Linked DNA regions of Homo sapiens: all the other regions are linked to region 3. Evidence: promoter capture Hi-C in 16 types of primary human blood cells and fetal thymus (Javierre and others, 2016). All regions are on one chromosome and are shown on one strand. Each heading gives the region's core, a stretch centred on a gene start or on the middle of the fragment in contact. The rest is flanking DNA. Distances are from core to core; before and after follow the strand shown.

Region 1 (2,700 bases), core at 39-2,538, 2.1 Mb before region 3:
GCCCTGAGTGAGTGCTGAGTGAGCAGCAACATCCCCTGGAGTGACAAGGACTCTGTTCCCAGTTTCTCCCTCCTGCTGGACACTTGCCCCTCAATTGCTCATCTCAGCCTGCAGTGCATACACCCCTACTCCAGGCCTGTCCCTCAGCCCCTCTCCACCCTCCCTTGGGTCCGAGCTCTGGGTGGCAGTGAGGTGGGCGCTGTCAGGAAGTGCACGCAGGAGGTGCAACCAAAGACCCCTGGGCTCTCACAGGACCCTGGCTCTGAGCCCCTGATCACACCTGCTGACACCTGGAAAGTGTGCTAACTCAGGAGTGAGGTGGGCAAGGGGGCTGAGTGCTGGAGTGTGGCCACGGGGCCAGCATATGGCATCTGTGTGGCACTGCCCAGGAGACTCTGGGAAGGTGGGAGTCTCTGTTTCAGCCTCCAGACTTCCTGTCCAGATAAGGGACAACTTCTAAGAGGCCGAGGTGTTTGTCACGCCTGGGGCTGTGCTCTCCAGCACAGCACACCGCACTCTGGCCGGCTGTCTTCCCTTGGAGAGGGGCTCTTTACACTCACCACAGTTCGCCTCTGGGGTGTGGGGGTGTTGGTCCTGTCCCCAGATGCCAGCCCGACTGTGGGGTCTAGAGACTGCCACACTATGTCTCTAATAAACCGAGTCAGAAATCGTGCCCTGTGGCTAAGCGGCAGGGCAGCGATGGCCTGCATGGTCCTGCCCTTGGAGCTCAAAGCTGCTTGGGCCTCCTGGGGCCAGGCAGTTTCCATGGAAACAAGGGAGAGCACCAACCCCCAGAGATAAGCCAATAAACGCAACCTGCAAAAGGAGAGAACAGGCAGCAAGAGAGGCGGAGGGAACCCGGGGGGCCTGGAGAGAGAGGCGAGTGTGTGGCAGCCGGGCTGTGGAGCAGAACCGGAGAGGCCGCAGGCTGCGGGCTGGAGGAAAAGGAGGGCCTTGCAGGGGGGCTACTGTTCCTGGCAGAGAGAAAGGAGGCCTCTGGAGGTCAGAGAGAGACACAAAGAGAGCAGACAGAGCGAAGGTCAGTGAAGAGGCCAGCACGCAGGTGCCCGGGCCCTCTTGGGTCAGCGGGTGTGGGTGCCCAGGCCCTGGCACTCCCCCCATGAAGGCAGCCTGCTCTCCACGCCTTCTCAGGATGCCTGTGCGGGTCTCCTCGTGCTTCCAGGCAGGGAGCCAGCTCTGGGCCTTCTTCCATTGGCCTAGGAGGTTGTGCTGCATTTCAGAGAGAGCCATCGGGAGCAGAAGCAACATGCGGAGAGGATGAGCAGGGACAGAGGCTCCACCATGACACTCTCAGTCCCAGAATCTCCTCAGCCCAGTCACCACACTGGAGAGGGAGGAGGCCCTTCAGACCCCGCAGGCCTCTGCACCCTGGGAGTTCCGCGTCTGACTCTCTTCCTGCAGTCATCAGAGGGAAAGCTGACCAGGACTGGCCAAGCCCCTGCGCAGGAACTGGGCCCAGGTGGGGTAAAGGCAGGAAGACCTCTGCCTGCCCTGGTCCCTGGGCACTTCCCTGGATGCTGTATACCACAGGACAGAGATCGAGACTGTCTTTTGAAAAACATTTAGAGACAGGATCTCACCCTGTCACCCAGAGTGGTCTAAAACTCATGGCCTCAAACGATCCTCCCGCCCTGGGGTCCCAAAGATTATAGGCGTGAGCCAGGGCGCCCAGCCCCAAACTGTCTTGATTCCCGACGTTGTAGGATGAAGGCCTGAGTGAAGAGGTGGAGGGGAGCTAAGCGGAGGAGCCCTACCCAGCCTGGACCACCCTGGGGTACGCACTCTGCGTCCACCTGACCTGGACGTGCCTCCTAAGGCTGGCAGCGAAGCCCAGGAGCAGAGCCCACGGATGGGCCCTGCAGGTGCTGGGCCTAGACCGACAGACAGGCCTGGCCACTCAGGGCCACGCCGCCGCTGTGCCGCGCCTGCCCCCTCCCCGCCCGCCACCCCCGCCACTGGGGCAGGGACAGCGGGCCCAGCTCTGACCTCGGGTCTCGGGCACGCTCGACGTGGGCAGAGACACGGCCGCAGGGTCCTGGGGCTCGCTCGCTAGCCTCTGCCCGGCACACATGGACTTGAGCATCTGGAAGACGGCGAGGGGGGCCACGTTCAGCTTCAGCAGGTCCACCAGGATCCTGGCGGGGACAGACGCGGGGCCGGTGAGCCCTCTCCGCCCGGCGCGGCCACCTCCCTGAAGACCCGACAAGGACGGGGGCGGGGGCTCCTCCCGACCAGCGGGCCGGGCGTACCCGGAAAGCAGAGGTCGGGGGGTGTCTGGCTAGCATGCGGCCCCCACCCGCCCCGCTCACTTGAACACGTCGGGGTCGATAGCGCCGCCCGCCGCCTGCGCCAGCTCGTACAGCTCCATCTCCTCGGTGCTCAGCACCTTCTTCCGCCGCAGCGCCAGCTTCTGCCGGGCCGCCTCCAGCCCCGGGGGCGCCGCCGACCCCGGCCCAGGCCCTACGCCCTGCGCCGCCATCCCCGCGGCCCGCGGAAAGGTGCGCTCCGCCCCGCCGCGCCCCCTAGCGGCTGCGCCCACCACCCTCTCCCTGCAGCGTCAACGTCTGGCCTCCCGGGCTGCCCTGGCGGGAGGGGCGGGAGCGCGGGGACGGGGCCGCCTCCGCGGCGTCATTGAAGCCCAACAGTTATTGGGCGCTCACGGTGTGCTGAGCGGCGCTC
Region 2 (2,700 bases), core at 18-2,517, 2.2 Mb before region 3:
CATCGCTCTGATCTCTGGCCCCATCCTTCACGTGGCCTTCTTCTCCATATGTATCCACGTGTCCTCTCCTTCTCCTGCAAGAACAGCAGTCACTGGATATAGAACCTACTCTAAGCTGGGTGTGGTGGCTCACGCCTATAATCCCAGCAATTTGGGAGAGCGAGGCAGGTGGATCACCTGAGGTTGGGAGTTGGAGACCAGCCTGACCAACATGGAGAAACCCCGTCTCTACCGAAAATACAAAATTACCTGGGCATGGTGGCGCATGCCTGTAATCCCAGCTACTTGGGAGGCTAAGGCAGAAGAATCACTTGAACCCAGGAGGCGGAGGTTGCTGTGGGCCGAGAGAGCGCTACTGCACTCTAGCCTGGGCAACAAAAGTGAAACTCCATCTCCAAACAAACAAAACAAAACAAAACAAACAGACAAAAAAAAAAAAAAAAAAAAAAAAACACACACAGAAAAAAGAGCCTACTCTAATCCAGTACAAATCACCTTAACTTAATTACATCTGCAAGATTCTATTCCCAAATTAAATCATCTTCTGAGGTTGTGGGTAGACACGATATTTTTTTTCTTTTTGATGGGGAGACACTGTTCAACCCAAGACAGAGCACGTGGAGGGACAAACTGCAAAAACAGTGGATTCCTATAACAAAGTTTTAAAAATGCTGCCTTGACCCACTTTTGAGGCCCTGGCTAGAGGTCAGTTTCCCTTCTTGGGCACCCGATTAAGTTCATACTTGCAACCACTGGACTCTCTCACTCTGAGCTAATCAAACCCCTCCCCACCCCATAACACGTGCTCTCTCGGGAACTGTGAGTAAAATGTTTCAGCGTCACTCATGTCTTATCTTTTCAATATCAGTCATTTCCTAATCTGAATAATGTTACCTAAATAATAATAAAACCTATTGAAGCAGCGGGCCCAGCAAGCAGGGTGGTTTGGTGGGCTACAATGACGGCCACTAGGCCGCCCTTGCTTACAGACTGGCCCCACCAGGTGGCAGCACCAGTCCGGGGCACAGCTACGTTTTGCCGTCTAACGGGTGTCTGGTGAATCTCATTCCTAAATTGTGAAACTTTGAGTCATCCAGAGTTTCTCCTAAACCAAGGTATCAAGTGCTTCGGGCAGCTCAAATTAATTGGCTACTTCTGGTTGTCAAAAAACTCCACAGAAGCGGGCAAGGAGTGAGGAGGGGGTGTGGCTCTCCTCCAGGTGCCATGGAGCCGGCTGAGTGGCTCCATGTCAGGCAACGCGGACACATGGCTGGCAACACAATCACTCTCTACGGCCCATTCCACCTTACGGCGGGAGACCGCACTGCCAGGACGGCCCAGGGCCTGGTGGCTCACGGGGTCGGTGCGCCAGCAGCCTCTTCCGGGATCCACCGCATCCCGCGAGTCCTTGATAGTATTTGTAGACTGCTGTGGTGTTGTCTGCCTTGATGCTGTCGCAGTTTGTCCCTCGAACCCCGTGCAGTACAAGGGCTCACACCCACGGAGACCGCTGGCACAGTGCTTAATAAAAAATGAAGGCCGGGCGCGGTGGCTCACACCTGTAATCCCAGCACTTTGGGAGGCCGAGGCGGGTGGATCACGAGGTCAGGAGATCGAGACCATCCTGGCCAACATGGTGAACCCCCGTCTCTACTAAAAATACAAAAAATTAGCTGGGCGTGGTGGCGGGCGCCTATAGTCCCAGTTACTCGGGAGGCTGAGGCAGGAGAATCGCTTGAATCGGGGAGGTGGAGCTTGCAGTGAGCCAAGATTGCGCCACTGCACTCCAGCCTGGGAGACAAAGCGAGACTCCGTCTCAAAAACAAAAAAAACAAAAAAACAAAAACAAAAATAAAAAATAAAAAATAAATCAAAGGGGAGGGAACACCTTCTTCCTGCCCTGTCCGAGACCCCCAACAAGGAGGTCACACAGTTGATTCCGGAATGAGAACCCCTGGACTCTGGCCTCGCAGAGCAGTGATGGTTGGGTTAGGTTGGTGAAAGTAGAAATGAAGAAATGTGGGTGAGTTCAAGAGATACTGATGTAGTGGAATTAGTGTGTCTTTGCAATGTTTTGGATGTGAGGGGTGAAAGAGCAATTAAAGCTGTTTTCCAGATTTCTGCCTCATGCAACTGTTTGTGCCTTTCACTGCAGAAACTGGAGACTAAACTGGACTGGAAGTGCGTAGTTTTTTCGTTTTTGTTTTTTGGAGATAGGATCTTGCTATGCTTTCCACGCTGGACTTGAATTCCAAGGCTGAAAGGATACCATCCTCCACCTCAGCCTCCTGAGTAGCTGGGACTACAGGTGTGTGCCCCTGTACCCAGCTTCATGAGTTTAGTTTTATACATGTTGAATTTTAGCTATCTTGGTTAAAGATTTCAAGGTAGAATATGTGGGTCTGTAGCTCAGTGGAGAGGCTGGTTATGTTGGTTATGTGTTCCATCTCGATGTTGAAGTTACTGATCCTTTCAGGGAGGTCTTGGAATGAAGAGGAATACTGAGCTAAGTGCCAGAGTCCCTAGTGAATGAAGAATTTAATTAGGGTATTTGTTAGATGGCACAACAAAGGGGGTTGGATAGAACTTTGGTTGAATGGTTTGGTCTCTTCACAGGAAGACTGCTTTCTACAAGAGGATGGGTTAGTAACGGTCTGGAAGTGGTGATGGGTACGAAGAGCTCACTGCTTCACCCTCAAG
Region 3 (2,700 bases), core at 129-2,628:
TCTTGTATTGTTACAGGGAAACTTAGATAAAAAAAGAAAATGCTCACAGACAGCTGCAGGAAAGTTCTAAGCAAATTTTCTTCTTACTTTCATATATTCCCCTGAAGTTCAATGTGCATTATAAATGTGCTATGCTACTGTACAAAGTATTATGGTCACTTCCTTTAATAAGTTTCATGTGGCCAGGAGTTCAAGATCAGACTGGTAGGTAACAAGACCTCATCTCTACAAAATAAATAAATAAATAAATAAATAAGAATTTTTTTAAAATAAGCTTCAGCTAAGTTTATCAAAAGCAAGTCAAGTGTTGCTAAATTCGACTGGCTTAAAAAAAAAAAAAGCAAAGTGAAAAGGCTACAATTATTCCAAGTTTTGTGGTGCTGTTAAATAGCTATTTAAAATGTCTTCAAACGCCTGCAAGTGTAAGATTCTTGAAGGAAAGAGGGCACTTTACACTAAAATTGGCTGGCAAGTACATCAATGAATGTTTCCAAAACAGTTAGTGTAGCACAATAAGGCAAAAGACCCCAGGACTTCAAACGAACAAAATTGCTCCTTCTCAAATCTGGCAAGAAATGCAAAACAACTGCAGATTCTGGCCAAGGAACAAAAACAGTTCACATCTATAAGTTATTGGCGACGGACGCAGATCTCATTCTGGCAGGTCCCACGCTAAAAGTGAAACCATATCATCCAATTTCCAGCCAACAGATCACAGTGTTAAAAGAAAACAGTAACCAATACGCATCAACCCGAATTCATTTTAGGAAAAATTGAAATCTATTTTAAAAAGCACGTCGTTCTGCAATCAGGGTCCTGCAAAGTGCTGCTTCTCAACTCACTGAGGATCAAGCTTGGTCTAAATCCATGGTAGGATACCTCCCCCATTTCCTTCTGCACTTGGCACAAGGATCTAAAGCTCTTCAAAGAAGGTTCAAGACCGCTGAACAGAGCCCGCCGCCACCCCCGCGGAAGCGATACCTTGCCAAGAAGACCACTGAGGGCAACTCGGGGCGCTCGCGAATAGGGGAAGGGATAGGACACCAGAGGGTAAACTGAGTCACGGTAGAGGCGGAAGCTCAATGTGACAGGGGCACAGGGTCGCCTTGTGCCCCAAACCCTCTCTTTGTCCACGAGGCCTCCTCACGCCACCCCTGGGTACCTGTCACCGGCAGCGCACCCGCGGCACACGCACCGCTCGCGTCTCCCTTGCAGCCCATGCCCGGGCCGTGGTCAGTCCGCCACAGTGCCAGAGACAACGCCAGGGCAGGGCGGGGCGAGGCGGCAGCGGCAGTGCAGGCTGCGCCAGTGAGAGGCCGACACGCGCCTTTCCCGCGGCTCGACTCAACACCCAGCCTCGCAAAGCAATTGCCCAGCTGCCGGCCGCCCTTTTACTTCCGCTTCCTGCAGGCGAACGCTGGAGGACTTCCGGATACCGAGTCGAGACCTAGCAGCCCAGAGCGTCGCGCGGTCGCCCTCTCATCTCCGAGGGTTGGGGAGGGGGGAGTCCTGCCTCTCTCCTCACTTCCGCCTTTCAGGGTGGCGGGTAGGCTGCCGGTCTTCAAGGTCTTGGGAAGGTTCGTTGGGCCAACAGCTGAGACCCGAAAGCTTCAACAGTCAGTCGGTGAAATCCAGTTTGGACTCTGGGACTTACTCCCTTAAACCTTTGTTAAAAGCTTACTCCCTTTAGCCTTTCGGTGGCACAGTAAGGACAATTGTCTTAATGTTTCTGAGCATCTTAGACTTTATACTAAACCCTAAAATTTTGATAGCTACCTTCCAGGAGGCATGATGAAAGGAAGACTTTTTAAATTTTATGAGCCGCTTGAGCTTTCTTATTCGGACAGCGGCAGCTTAGTCTACAGGGACTACTTTGTCCTTTTAGTATTTTTTTTTTAACTAATATAAACCAGTTTAAAATTGTTTTGGAATAGGTAGCATTTAACCCACCCAAAAATGAATACCTCTTTGGAGGGTATATTTTTAAGTATATTAAGTCAAAGTGAATGAAAAGCCAAAAATATTTTTTTGGAGTTGGAGTCTCGCTCTGTCTCCCAGGCTGGAATGCAGTGGCGCGATCTCGGCTCACTGCAACCTCCGCGCCCCCGCCCGCGCCCCCCACCCCCCAACCCCCCGACCCGCATTCAAGCGATTCTCCCACCTCAGCCTCCCCAGTAGCTGGGATTACAGGCGTGCGCCACCGCGCCTGGCTAATTTTTGTATTTTTAGTAGAGACAGGGTTTCACCCTGTTGGCCAGGCTGGTCTCGAACTGCTGACCTCAGATGATCCACCCGCCTCGGCCTCCCAAGTGCTGGGATTACAGGCGTGACCCACTGCGCCCGGCCCAAAATAATTTTAATAAATAAACATGAGCCAACATGATGAAGGGGAGGAAGGAGAGGAGGATGAAGGAGATGACTAATGGAACACTGATGGAGGCCGGGCGCGGTGGCTCACGCTGAGGATGGAGGCTGAGGCAGGAGAATGGCGTGAACCCGGGAGGCGGAGGTTGCTTGCAGTGAGCAGAGATCGCATCACTGCACTCCAGCCTGGGCGAGAGAGGGAGACTCCATCTCAAAAAAAAAAAAAACAGCAACAACAACAGCAAAAAAACACTGATGGATTCCAACCTTCCTTTTTTTACATTTTCTCCAGTCCCTGGGAGCAAGTTGCAGTTTTTTTGTTTTTTTGTTTTTTGT

The links. The method cuts DNA at HindIII sites, captures the fragments that hold promoters and counts their contacts. A CHiCAGO score of 5 or more calls a contact.
Region 1: a fragment that was not itself captured here is called in contact with the fragment with the promoter of UGGT1 in region 3 in 1 of 17 cell types (fetal thymus); the score reaches 6.5 in fetal thymus.
Region 2: a fragment that was not itself captured here is called in contact with the fragment with the promoter of UGGT1 in region 3 in 4 of 17 cell types (activated CD4 T cells, monocytes, fetal thymus and 1 more); the score reaches 6.5 in activated CD4 T cells.

Annotation. Positions count from the first base shown.
Region 1 is chr2:130,182,083-130,184,782 of GRCh38, reverse strand. MZT2B (mitotic spindle organizing protein 2B) reads right to left here and starts at 2,521. Exons shown (of 3, transcript NM_025029.5): 1 at 2,331-2,521; 2 at 2,008-2,156. The coding sequence starts at 2,500. RefSeq lists enhancers at 99-835, 836-1,572 and a silencer at 2,266-2,700. The HindIII fragment of the contact is 5,492 bases long and covers 1-2,700 here.
Region 2 is chr2:130,331,037-130,333,736 of GRCh38, reverse strand. No RefSeq gene overlaps it. Among named protein-coding and RNA genes, the nearest start is that of TRE-TTC1-1, 4.8 kb to the left of the region's middle. RefSeq lists an enhancer at 792-1,342. The HindIII fragment of the contact is 3,328 bases long and covers 1-2,700 here.
Region 3 is chr2:128,089,878-128,092,577 of GRCh38, reverse strand. UGGT1 (UDP-glucose glycoprotein glucosyltransferase 1) reads right to left here and starts at 1,378. Exons shown (of 41, transcript NM_020120.4): 1 at 1,163-1,378. The coding sequence starts at 1,220. RefSeq lists an enhancer at 1,307-1,616. The HindIII fragment of the contact is 755 bases long and covers 856-1,610 here.